3 separate regions of the Homo sapiens genome follow, and all the other regions are linked to region 3. Evidence: promoter capture Hi-C in 16 types of primary human blood cells and fetal thymus (Javierre and others, 2016). All regions are on one chromosome and are shown on one strand. Each heading gives the region's core, a stretch centred on a gene start or on the middle of the fragment in contact. The rest is flanking DNA. Distances are from core to core; before and after follow the strand shown. Region 1 overlaps ZFX (zinc finger protein X-linked). Region 2 overlaps APOO (apolipoprotein O). Region 3 holds the start of KLHL15 (kelch like family member 15).

Region 1 (3,323 bases), core at 26-2,525, 140 kb after region 3:
TCCTGACCTCAAGTGATCTACCTGCCTCAGCCTTCCAAAGTGCTGGGATTACAGGTGTGAGCCATTGCACCTGGCCCTAATGTAACATATTCAAGAGCAAGATTGCTTTCTCTATTTATTTGTCTAAAAAGGAAAAAAAAAAAAAAAAGAAATCTCTAGCTGGGCGTGGTGGCACATGCCTGTAGTCCCAGCTACTTGGAAGGCTGAGGCAGGAGAATCGCTTGAACCTGGGAGGCAGAGGTTGTGGTGAGCTGAGATCGTGCCATTGCACTCCAGCCTGGGCAACAAGAGTGAAACTCTGTCTCAAAAAACAAAAAAATCCCACACAGTAGAGTTTTTAATTACTCTTATCAGTGGGATTTTTTCATTCTTAGGTGTTTACATGAGAAAGCTTTTGTCTTCAAGTATATTAATTTTGTACCAGCACACCTTATGAATTCATACCGATAATAGTTTTTCAGTTGATTCTCTTGTATTTCCTAGATATAGCATATGCAAATAAGTTTAATTTCCTTCAAGTAATAATTATATCTTCTATTTCATCATCTTACCTAATTACACTGGCTGGCATTTGTCACACAATCCTATAATAATAGTATTAATGGCCATTCTTAATTTTGACTTTAGAGAGAATACTTCTAATGTTTTACCTTAGGTTTAATAGATGTCTTTTTGTTATAAAGTGATAACTGACATCATTCTCATATCCCAAAACACATGTTCTGACATGAACTGGTTTAAGATTGCATATACTTGAGTATTTTTTAAACAGCTTTATTGAGATAAAGCTATTATTAAATCTACCCTTTAAAATGTACATTTCAGTGGTTTTTTAGTAGATTCAGAGTTCTGTAACTATTATCACTAATTAGAACATTTTCGTCACCCCAAAAAGAAACCCTACACCTACTGGTAATCACTCTCCTCTCCCCGCTTCCTTCATCCCCTAGCAACCACTAATCTACCTTCTGTCTGTGTGGATTTGCTTGTTCCTGACGTTTCATATAAATGGAATCCTATAACGTGGTCTTTCGTGTCTGGCTCCTTTCACTTAGCATATTGTTTTCAAGGTCATCCATGTTTTAGCGTGTATCCTATTTATTTAATTTGTTAACTGTTAAAATATCTATCCCAATTTGACTCAAAAGTTTGCTTTAAATCAAAAGTAGGCGTTCAGTTTCAACTTTTCAGCATCTGTTGAGAATATCAGGCGTTTTTTTTTTTGACCTATTAATTTGGGCCATTATTTGGCTCCATCCTTGAATTCTAGAGTACCCATACTGTGCCAAGGTCTGTGGTGTGTGTGTGTGTGTGTGTACATGTACATGGATGTGCTTTTTTTTTTTTTTTTTTTTTTACATGACGGATCATATTTGCGGATACTTGACTTGGGATTCATAATTAACCAAGTTTGTAATTTGGTTAAATTATTTTTGTTAGGTTTTTTTTTTTTTTTTTTTTTTTTTTTTTTTGATACAGAGTCTCACTCTGTCGCCCAGGCTGGAGTGCAATGGCGCGATCTTGGCTCACTGCAACCTCTGCCTCCTGGGTTCAAGTGATTCTCGTGCCTCAGCCTCCTGAGTAGCTGGGACTACAGGCGCGAGCAACCACGCCCAGCTAAGTTTTGTATTTTTGGTAGAGATGGGGTTTCACCATGTTGGCCAGGCTGGTCTCGAACTCCTGACCTCAGGTGATCCACCCACCTCAGCCTTCCAAAGTGCTGGGATTACAGGCATTAGTCACCATGCCCGGCCGCCTAGCTAATTTTTAAAATTATTTTGTCAAGATGGAGTCTAGCTATTTTGTCCAGGCTGGTCTTGAACTCCTTGCTGCAAGTGATCTCCTGCCTTGGCTTCCCAAAGCGCTGGGATTACGGGTGTGAGCCACTGTGCCCAGGCCCCCTCTTTTAAAAAAAAGAAAAAAAAAAAAAAAAAAATTCATTACGATCGGGTTTTCTTTTATTGAGTTAATGCTGGTAATTTACATTTTCCGTCACTGTGCTAGTGTAGAATTCTAGACCATTTTCATACAAGTTGTTTTCTTTTTTTCTGTTTTTTTTTTTTCTTATTTCAAATTGTATATGTTTGTGCTTTCTCCCAGTTTCTTCCCCTCTTTTAGATTATTATCTTGTATTTTATTGTCTTCCCAACCCCCTGGAAAAAGCTTGGTTTGGAGATTTTTTTGGGGTAAAAATTAGCTGGCTCCCTAGCTTTGCTCCAGAGAATGGTCATGAAATTAATGGTTGCTGATACTCAACCTGGAGCATGCCTGTTGTTGGTCTTTTGAGAAGCAGGCGTATTTCAAACCTGCCCCTGCATTGCCCAGCTTGTTCTTTTCTTTTATTATTTTTTTAATGATTAAAGGATTTATTAAATTCCATGTGCAAAACACATTGCTGATTGCATTAGCAAAAGATCAATGTAAAAATACCCCACAATTCTGGAACTGTCCATTTAAAATATTTGTTCTAGTTGTTGAAAGGCCCAGTGTTATATTCTTGCCAGTGCTTAAGGTATACAGAGAATACTGTAAGTGTTAACACTGAGTTTACAGAACCTCATAGGCCGAAAGTAATGTATTTAGGAAAAGCAATAATAGTAAGTATGCATTCATGTAGGTGAGATATAGTATGGTCAATATGGGTCAAATTACAGCGTTGGTGATCAGTGACAAGGGAGTTGGCAAGACAATTATGTTAAGAAAGATCATAGTTTAAGAATATTTAGGGCTGGGCACGGTGCCTCACACCTGTAATCCCAGCACTTTGGGAGGCTGAGGCGGGTGGATCACCTGAGGTCAGGAGTTCGAAACCAGCCTGGCCAACGTGGTGAAACCCTGTCTCTACTAGTAAAAAATACAAAAAATTAGCCAGGCGTGGTGGTGCATGCCTGTAAATGCCAGCTACTTTTGGGAGGCTGAGGTAGGAGAATTGCTTGAACCTGGGAGGCAGAGATTGTAGTGAGCTGAGATGGCGATGTTGCACTCCAGCCTGGGCAACAAGAGTGAAACTCCGTCTGAAAAAAAAAAAAAAAATTTAGAGTGTTTTGAAAACTGTAAACCTGCAAGGCATGATTTTTACAACTAGTTACCAGAAAATGAAGGAAAGCACATAATTAGCTTGAATAAAGTAACATGAAAGCGAGACTGCACTAATTTAAAAAAACCCCAAATCCTAATACAGTATCAGAAAAATATTTTCTTTTCTTTCTTTTTTTTGAGACGGAGTCTCGCTCTATCACCAGGCTGGAGTGCAGTGGCATGAATTTGGCTCACTGCAACCTTTGCCTCCTGAGTTCAAGCAGTTCCCCTGCCTCAGCCTCCTG
Region 2 (3,429 bases), core at 676-3,175, 140 kb before region 3:
GAGAAATTATGACATTTATTTACATTCAAGAAAATCTCTCCCGTCTTAAACAAAACACAACAAATACCCTCCACCCCTAATTCCCTCTCTAACAACTACCTTACCCTTCTACCAACTTCCATTGACAAATTTATTTTAAAAGTAGACTATGGTTAGAAGGCAGAATAGTGGATACCCTTAGCAAGCTGGGTAGTGACTAGAAGGGCCACGAGAAGAGCTTCTAGAGTGCTAGTATGTTTAGTTTGTAAAAATTCACTTATGCCCCGTTTACTTTCCTATATGTATGTTATACAAATGGTCTCAGACTTACAAATGGTTCAACCTTACATGGTGCAGAAGCGATACGCATTCTGTAGAAACCGCACTTTGAGTACCCATATAACCATTCTGCTTTTCACTTTCAGTGCAGTATTCAATAATGTACATGAAACATTCAATAGTTTATTATAAAATAGGCTTTGTGTTAGATGATTCTGCCCAACTGTGGGCTACTGGAAGTGTTCTGAGTACATTTAAGGGAGGGTAGGCTAAATTATGATGTTTGGTAGGTTAGGTGTGTTAATTTTTGACTTAATGATATTTTCAACTTATGATAGGTTTATCAGAATGCAACCCCACCACAAGCTGAGGAGCATCCGCATTTAAGCACAAAGTCAAAAAGGCAGATTCTGTTTGCTTTCTCAATTTTATCTCCTCCTCCCTTTACTACTAAATGCACCTAAAACCTTTCTTCCCAAGACCACCAATAGCCTCCCAGTTGCTAAACCCCACTGGACATCTGGCATCTTGGTTGCACCCTGAAACTGGTGACTACTCTACATCTTCAACCCCTTTCTTTGGCTTACAGGATTCTACCCTATCCCCATTCTAGAGGCTTTCTAGGTACTCTCTCCTCCCCTTTTGGGCCTTCTCTTCCTCTGCATAGCTCTTCAAGGTTGATGAGTCATGGAGTAGTCTTTAACTCTCTCCTCTTCTCACTCCAGGGCAATTTCATTAAAATCTAATTCTTTCTTTTTTTTTTCTTTCAGACAGAGTCTCGCTCTGTCACCCAGACTGGAGTCCAGTGGCCTGATCTCGGCTCACTACAATCTCCGCCTCCCGGGTTCAAGGGATTCTCATGCTTTAGCCTCCCAAGTAGCTGGGATTACAGGCGCCCGCCACCACGCTCAGCTAATTTTTGTGTTTTTAGTAGAGACAGGGTTTCGCCATGTTGGCCAGGCTGGTCTCAAACTCCTGGGCTCAAGGGATCCACCTGCCTCAGCCTCCCAAAGTGCTGGGATTATAGGCGTGAGCCACCACACCTGGCCAAAATCTAAGTCTTTAACTCCCACTCATATGCTACTGATGCTCAAATCAGTATCCCTAGCCTGGGCCTCTCCCTAAGCCTCAGGCTTGTGTGTTTCCTGTGTTTCTAACTCCCTGAGGGACATGTTACCAGGCTTTTCAACTGCTACTTCAAACAGGCTATATCCAAAGGTGACCTTTTTTTTGGAGTGATGGAATATATTATTTCTATTTTCCATGTAAATAATTTAAACTCTCTCTATGTAAGTATATATACACTTACAGTATCTTACCCTTCTACCAAGTTTATATATATGTATATAAACTATATGTATATATATACTTATAGACTTATACATACTATATATACTTAAAAATATAGTTTATATAGTTTAAGTATATATAATACTTTATGTATTTCTATATATAGTTTACATTTATATATTTAAAATGTATGACATTATGCTTTCAACTATCTTTCTCCAAAACTGTTTTTATGAGATTCTCTACCTTATTTAATGATCCTACAAGCCACACAAAGGACAACATAAAAGCAACTCTTTAATGATAAAGAATGAAAATAAATTTTTTTTTTTTTGAGACAGAGTTTTGCTCTTTCACCCAGGCTGGAGTGAAGTGGCGCAATCTCGGCTCAAGACAACCTCCGTGCCCCTGGGGTTCAAACGATTCTCCTGCCTCAGCCTCTCAAGTAGCTGGGATTACAGGCAGCCACCACCACACCCAGCTAATTATTTTTTTTTTTTTTGAGACGGAGTCTCGCACTGTCGCCCAGCCTGGAGTGCAGTGGCGCGATCTCCACTCACTGCAACCTCCGCCGTCTCTCGGATTCAAGCGATTCTCCTGCCTCAGCCTCCCAAGTAGCTGGCATTACAGGCGCCCGCTACCATGCCCAGCTACTTTTTGGAATTTTAGTAGAGACAGGGTTTCACCATGTTGGCTAGGCTGGTGGTCTCAAACTCCTTACCTCAGGTGATCCACCTGCCTTGGCCTCTCATACTGCTGGAATTGGCCAAGGTGGGCAGTTCACGAGGTCAGGAAATCGAGACCATCCTAGAAACACAGTGAAACCCCATCTCTACTAAAAATACAAAAAATTAGCAGGGCATGGTGGCGGGCGCCTGTAGTCCCAGCTACTCAGGAGGCAGAGGCAGGAGAATGGCGTGAACCTGGGAGGTGGAGCTTGCAGTGAGCCAAGATCGCGCCACTGCACTCCAACCTGGGCGACAGAGCGGGACTCCGTCACAAAAAAAAAAAAAAAGTGCTGGGATTACAAGCGTGAGCCACCGCGCCTGGCCTCAGTCAACCTTTTCTGCAATAATTTCCATTCTGACAGCATTTTTCACTCGAAACAAAACTATTTTAATCTGATTCTAATTATTTAGGAGGTAAAAATCTGAAATGGGTTTTTTACAAAAAAAAAAAACAAACTATGAACACTGACAATACTTTTGAGATTATTCTTATTCTAAGTAACCAACACAAAAAAAAGAACTATGTGAAAGAACTCAGAATACAACAAAATGATGAAGACAATAAAAAAATTTTGTCAAAATCAGGCTACACTGTTGTCCTCAGTAACGTGTTGTAAATTGAATGAAAAATCAAGAGAAAGGCCGGGCGCGGTGGCTCACGCCTGTAATCCCAGCACTTTGGGAGGCCGAAGCGGGCAGATCACGAGGTCAGGAGATCGAGACCATCTTGGCTAACATGGTGAAACCCCATCTCTACTAAAAATACAAAAAAAAAAAAAACAAAACATTAGCCAGGCGTGGTGGTGGGAACCTGTAGTCCCAGATACTCAGGAGGCTGAGGCAGGAGAAAACCTGGGAGGCGGAGCTTGCAGTGAGCCGACATCACGCCACTGCACTCCAGTCTGGGCGACAGGGCAAGGCTCCGTCTGAAAAATAAATAAATAAATAAATAAAAATAAAAATCAAGAGAAATGAGTCCACAATTCTTGAAACGTCAAAAGAATACAGAATACTCTCCTCCATAAGGAGCATTCAGGACAGTATCTACATTTTATACAGCAATCTTTTATTTTTATATTTTTTATTTTTTGAGACAGAGTTTCACTCTTGCCACCCAGGCTGGAGTGCAGTGCCACAATCTCGGCTCACTGCA
Region 3 (3,442 bases), core at 143-2,642:
AGCGGTTTCCCACCGAGGAAAACAGGCGGCCGGGCGTCGCGGCCCTGGACTGGGCCCGACGCAGCTTCCCCCGCGGCGCCGCCGTCGGGGCTGAGGACACTCAGCTGTCCTCGTCCCCTTGCAGCGGTCTCTCTCCGCCTGCACGAGCGATGGGCCCTGAGCCACTGCGGTGCGCCCACCCTCGACAAGTTGAGGGCTAGGAAGCCAGGAAAGTGTCTTTTTGCATCTTGGCCACGGTGGGGGTGGGGGAATCGGGGACAACGTGGAGGGAGCTTTTCCATAGCTACCTGTTATAAAAGTGACTAGATCTGCGCCAAATGACATCATTTTTTGTAAGGCAACTTGCAGTGGACTATTGCGTCACTGTCCACTTGGCTTACTGCACAACAATTACACGTTTCAGAAATCGATTTCCCAAGGGTGGGAAAATTCATAAAAAATTGCATGTCTGCACCACCCGGAGATAATGCCGGATTTAAAAAAGCTGTCTCTACTTGCGTCAAAATAATCAAGAACGAACATTCAGAGGGCAGTGATTTTTGTTGTTCGTTTTTTATAGAATTCTAGCTAGTACTTTTTAAATATTACCTTTTCTTGACAAGAATATAAAACTAGACTATAGGACTGTTTTGTAAATTTATTATGGCATCTCTTTCTGGGAAAAGTGTAGATGACGGAAATACACAGTTGGAAGCCCGTGGATCTACAATTAACCTTAAATTAGGGCATCCATTGCCCATAGCAGATCCTAAACTGAGGTATTTCGGCTTCCCCCACCCCCACCCCCCGCCGCCATTTTCTCTCTAGACCAATATCCCGATGAACTTTCCGTGAGAGGTGTCGCTAAAAGCGATAATTATCTCTTTCTAGCAAACTTGAACATACCATCTTTCCCAAGAGGCCAAAATAGCACACGGTGTACTGTTTTGCTGAAGTAGACTACTTCGTGGGAGAGATAACACAATCACTTCAATCTTTTGGAAATACGCTTCCTTATTCCGATTTAAACTATAACAAGCTTTAAAAAAACTGTAAGACACTGAAATTCCCAAGTTGTTCACACTTTCTTTCCATCTTTTCCAATAGCTCCTTTAAGATATTTCTGTTCATTATTTAAAAATCCCTGCTTGCCATATTTGTATCTATTACTACATGACAAATTACCCCAGAATTTCACATTAAAACAAATTTTTAAAATTAAATCATAAAATAAACTTTAAAAATGCATACATTCCACTTCTGAATATTTAAATGTTCATGCATTATTCCCGAACATCTAAACGCTGAGTTTGGATTTTTGTACATTAACTAACATTTTAAGCTATACATTACTATGTGGCACTGACCTGTCTAAAGAGAGGCTTCTGTTCTTGATTCAAGCAAGAGTTGAAACGTTTCTGCGCTCTTTGTACCAGGTATAAATGTAGTGAGTGTATGTCATAAGCCATTGTGTGATCACCGTGCTTCCCGTCCCTCCTTATTTTGACATTGCAAGGTCTCGTGGAATTTCAAATGTGCTTTTTTGGATATTTATGTAGTTTTAAAACTGGGCTGTGTCTTTCAATCAATCTATACGTTTACTATATGAACCCCTCCCCAAGTTATCTTCAATCAATGATGCCTCTTTCACTCTTATTTCTTATTTTTATGTTATTATTATTATTTTTTTTTTGAGACAGTCTCACTCTCGGCCAGGCTGGAGGGCAGAGGCATGATCTCAGCTCACTGCAGCCTTGACCTCCCGGGCTCAAGCAATCCTTCCACCTCAGCCTCCCGAATAGCTAGGACCACAGACGTGCCCCACCATGCTCGGCTAACTTTTCTTTTCTTGTTTTTGTTTGTTTGTTTGTTTTGTTTTTGTTTGCTTGTTTTTTTCTGAGATGGAGTCTGTCGCTCAGGCTGGGGTGCAGTGGATCTCGGCTGACTGCAACCTCCGCCTCCCGGGTTCAAGCGATTATCCTGCCTCAGCCTCCCGAGTAGCTGGGATTACAGGCGCTCGCCACCGTGCCCAGCTAACTTTTGTATTTTTAGTAGAGACGGGGTTTCACTGTGTTGGCTAGGCTGGTCTCAAACCCCCGACCTCATGATCGCCCGCCTTGGCCTCCCAAAGTGCTGGGATTACAAGCGTGAGCCACTGCACTCCAGCTCAGGCAACAGAGCAAAAACACCGTCTCAAAAAAAAAAAAGAAAAGAAAATATATTTTAACTTTCCCCACCAATTTCTGGACTGTAATGGGAGTTGTTAAATACCTTGAGAGTATCCTTTCACACTGGTAGAGTCCCACAGAGGTAGATGGAAGCTGTCTTTTCTTAGCCCTCTAGCCTAAGTATTTGAGAATACACATTCCTCAATAGCTATTTATTTAGCAGCTAGCGAGGTCGGAAGCATGCTAGAAGCCTGGGCCTGGGAGTGCTGGTGGAGTTGGAATGAGGTTCTTCCCCAGGGGTTCTGAGGATTTAGGATACTGCATACCCTCCTCCTCCCTCCTGTTTTTGCTTTTTAAGAAATTGAGGCCAGGCGTGGTGGCTCACGCCTGTAATTCCAGCACTTTGGGAGGCCGAGGCGGAAGGATCATTAGAGGTCAGGAGTTGGAAACCAGCCTGACGAACATAGTGAAACCCCGTCTCTATTAAAAATACAAAAAATTAGCTGGCATGGTGGTGCGGGCCTGCGGTCCCAGCTACTCAGGAGGCTGAGGTAGGAGTATGGCTTGAGCCCAGGAGGCAGAGGTTGCAGTGAGTCGAGATTGCACCACTGCACTCCAGCCTGGACAACGGAACTAGACGCTGTCTCAAAAAAAAAAAAAAGAAAAGAAAAGTTGAGGCTTTTCAGAAATTCCCAGTCTGTGGTAGTTGTCTTGGTAATCACTTTTCTTTTTACTTTTTTTTTTTTTCTTTTTTTTGAGACAGAGTCTCCCTCTATCATCCAGGCTGGAGTGCAGTGGCGTGATTGGCTCACTGCAACCTCTGCCTCCCAGGTTCAAGTGATTCTCCTGCCTCAGCCTCCCAAGTAGCTGGGACTACAGGCACACACCACCACGCCCAGCTAAATTTTGTAACTTTAGTAGAGATGGGTTTTCCCATGTTGGCCAGGCTGGTCTCGAACTCCTGACCTCTAGTAATCCATCCACCTCAGCCTCCCAAAGTGTTGGGATTACAGGCGTGATCAACCGCACCCAGCCACCCCATGATCTTTCCACTGTACCATGTAATTATATTAACATAGTAAATGATCTTCACATAGTTGTATTTTTATTCCTACTTAATTCCACAAATTGTTGGTTTGCAATCTACTATACTATTTATTTATTCATTCCATAAGTATGTGTAAGTGCCTAGTACATGCCAAGTCTTGTTCTACCCACTGGGGATCCATCAGTGAATAAAACATATGAAAACTCTAGCCCTTGTACGGATTACATGTGTCAGGTAATAAAATAAA

The links. The method cuts DNA at HindIII sites, captures the fragments that hold promoters and counts their contacts. A CHiCAGO score of 5 or more calls a contact.
Region 1: a contact is called between a fragment that was not itself captured here and the fragment with the promoter of KLHL15 in region 3, in 3 of 17 cell types (total B cells, activated CD4 T cells and monocytes). The highest score is 8.3, in total B cells.
Region 2: a fragment that was not itself captured here is called in contact with the fragment with the promoter of KLHL15 in region 3 in 9 of 17 cell types (activated CD4 T cells, naive CD4 T cells, naive CD8 T cells and 6 more); the score reaches 8.7 in activated CD4 T cells.

What each region holds. Positions count from the first base shown.
Region 1 is chrX:24,161,924-24,165,246 of GRCh38, forward strand. The region is part of intron 3 of ZFX (zinc finger protein X-linked); the gene reads left to right. Among named protein-coding and RNA genes, the nearest start is that of ZFX, 14 kb to the left of the region's middle. The HindIII fragment of the contact is 1,772 bases long and covers 390-2,161 here.
Region 2 is chrX:23,890,220-23,893,648 of GRCh38, forward strand. All of the region lies in intron 1 of APOO (apolipoprotein O), which reads right to left. Among named protein-coding and RNA genes, the nearest start is that of APOO, 16 kb to the right of the region's middle. The HindIII fragment of the contact is 7,288 bases long and covers 1-3,429 here.
Region 3 is chrX:24,025,794-24,029,235 of GRCh38, forward strand. It overlaps KLHL15 (kelch like family member 15), which reads right to left and starts at 1,393. Exons shown (of 4, transcript NM_030624.3): 1 at 1,347-1,393. RefSeq lists enhancers at 1-261, 262-765, 1,973-2,472 and a silencer at 1-94. The HindIII fragment of the contact is 3,234 bases long and covers 1,017-3,442 here.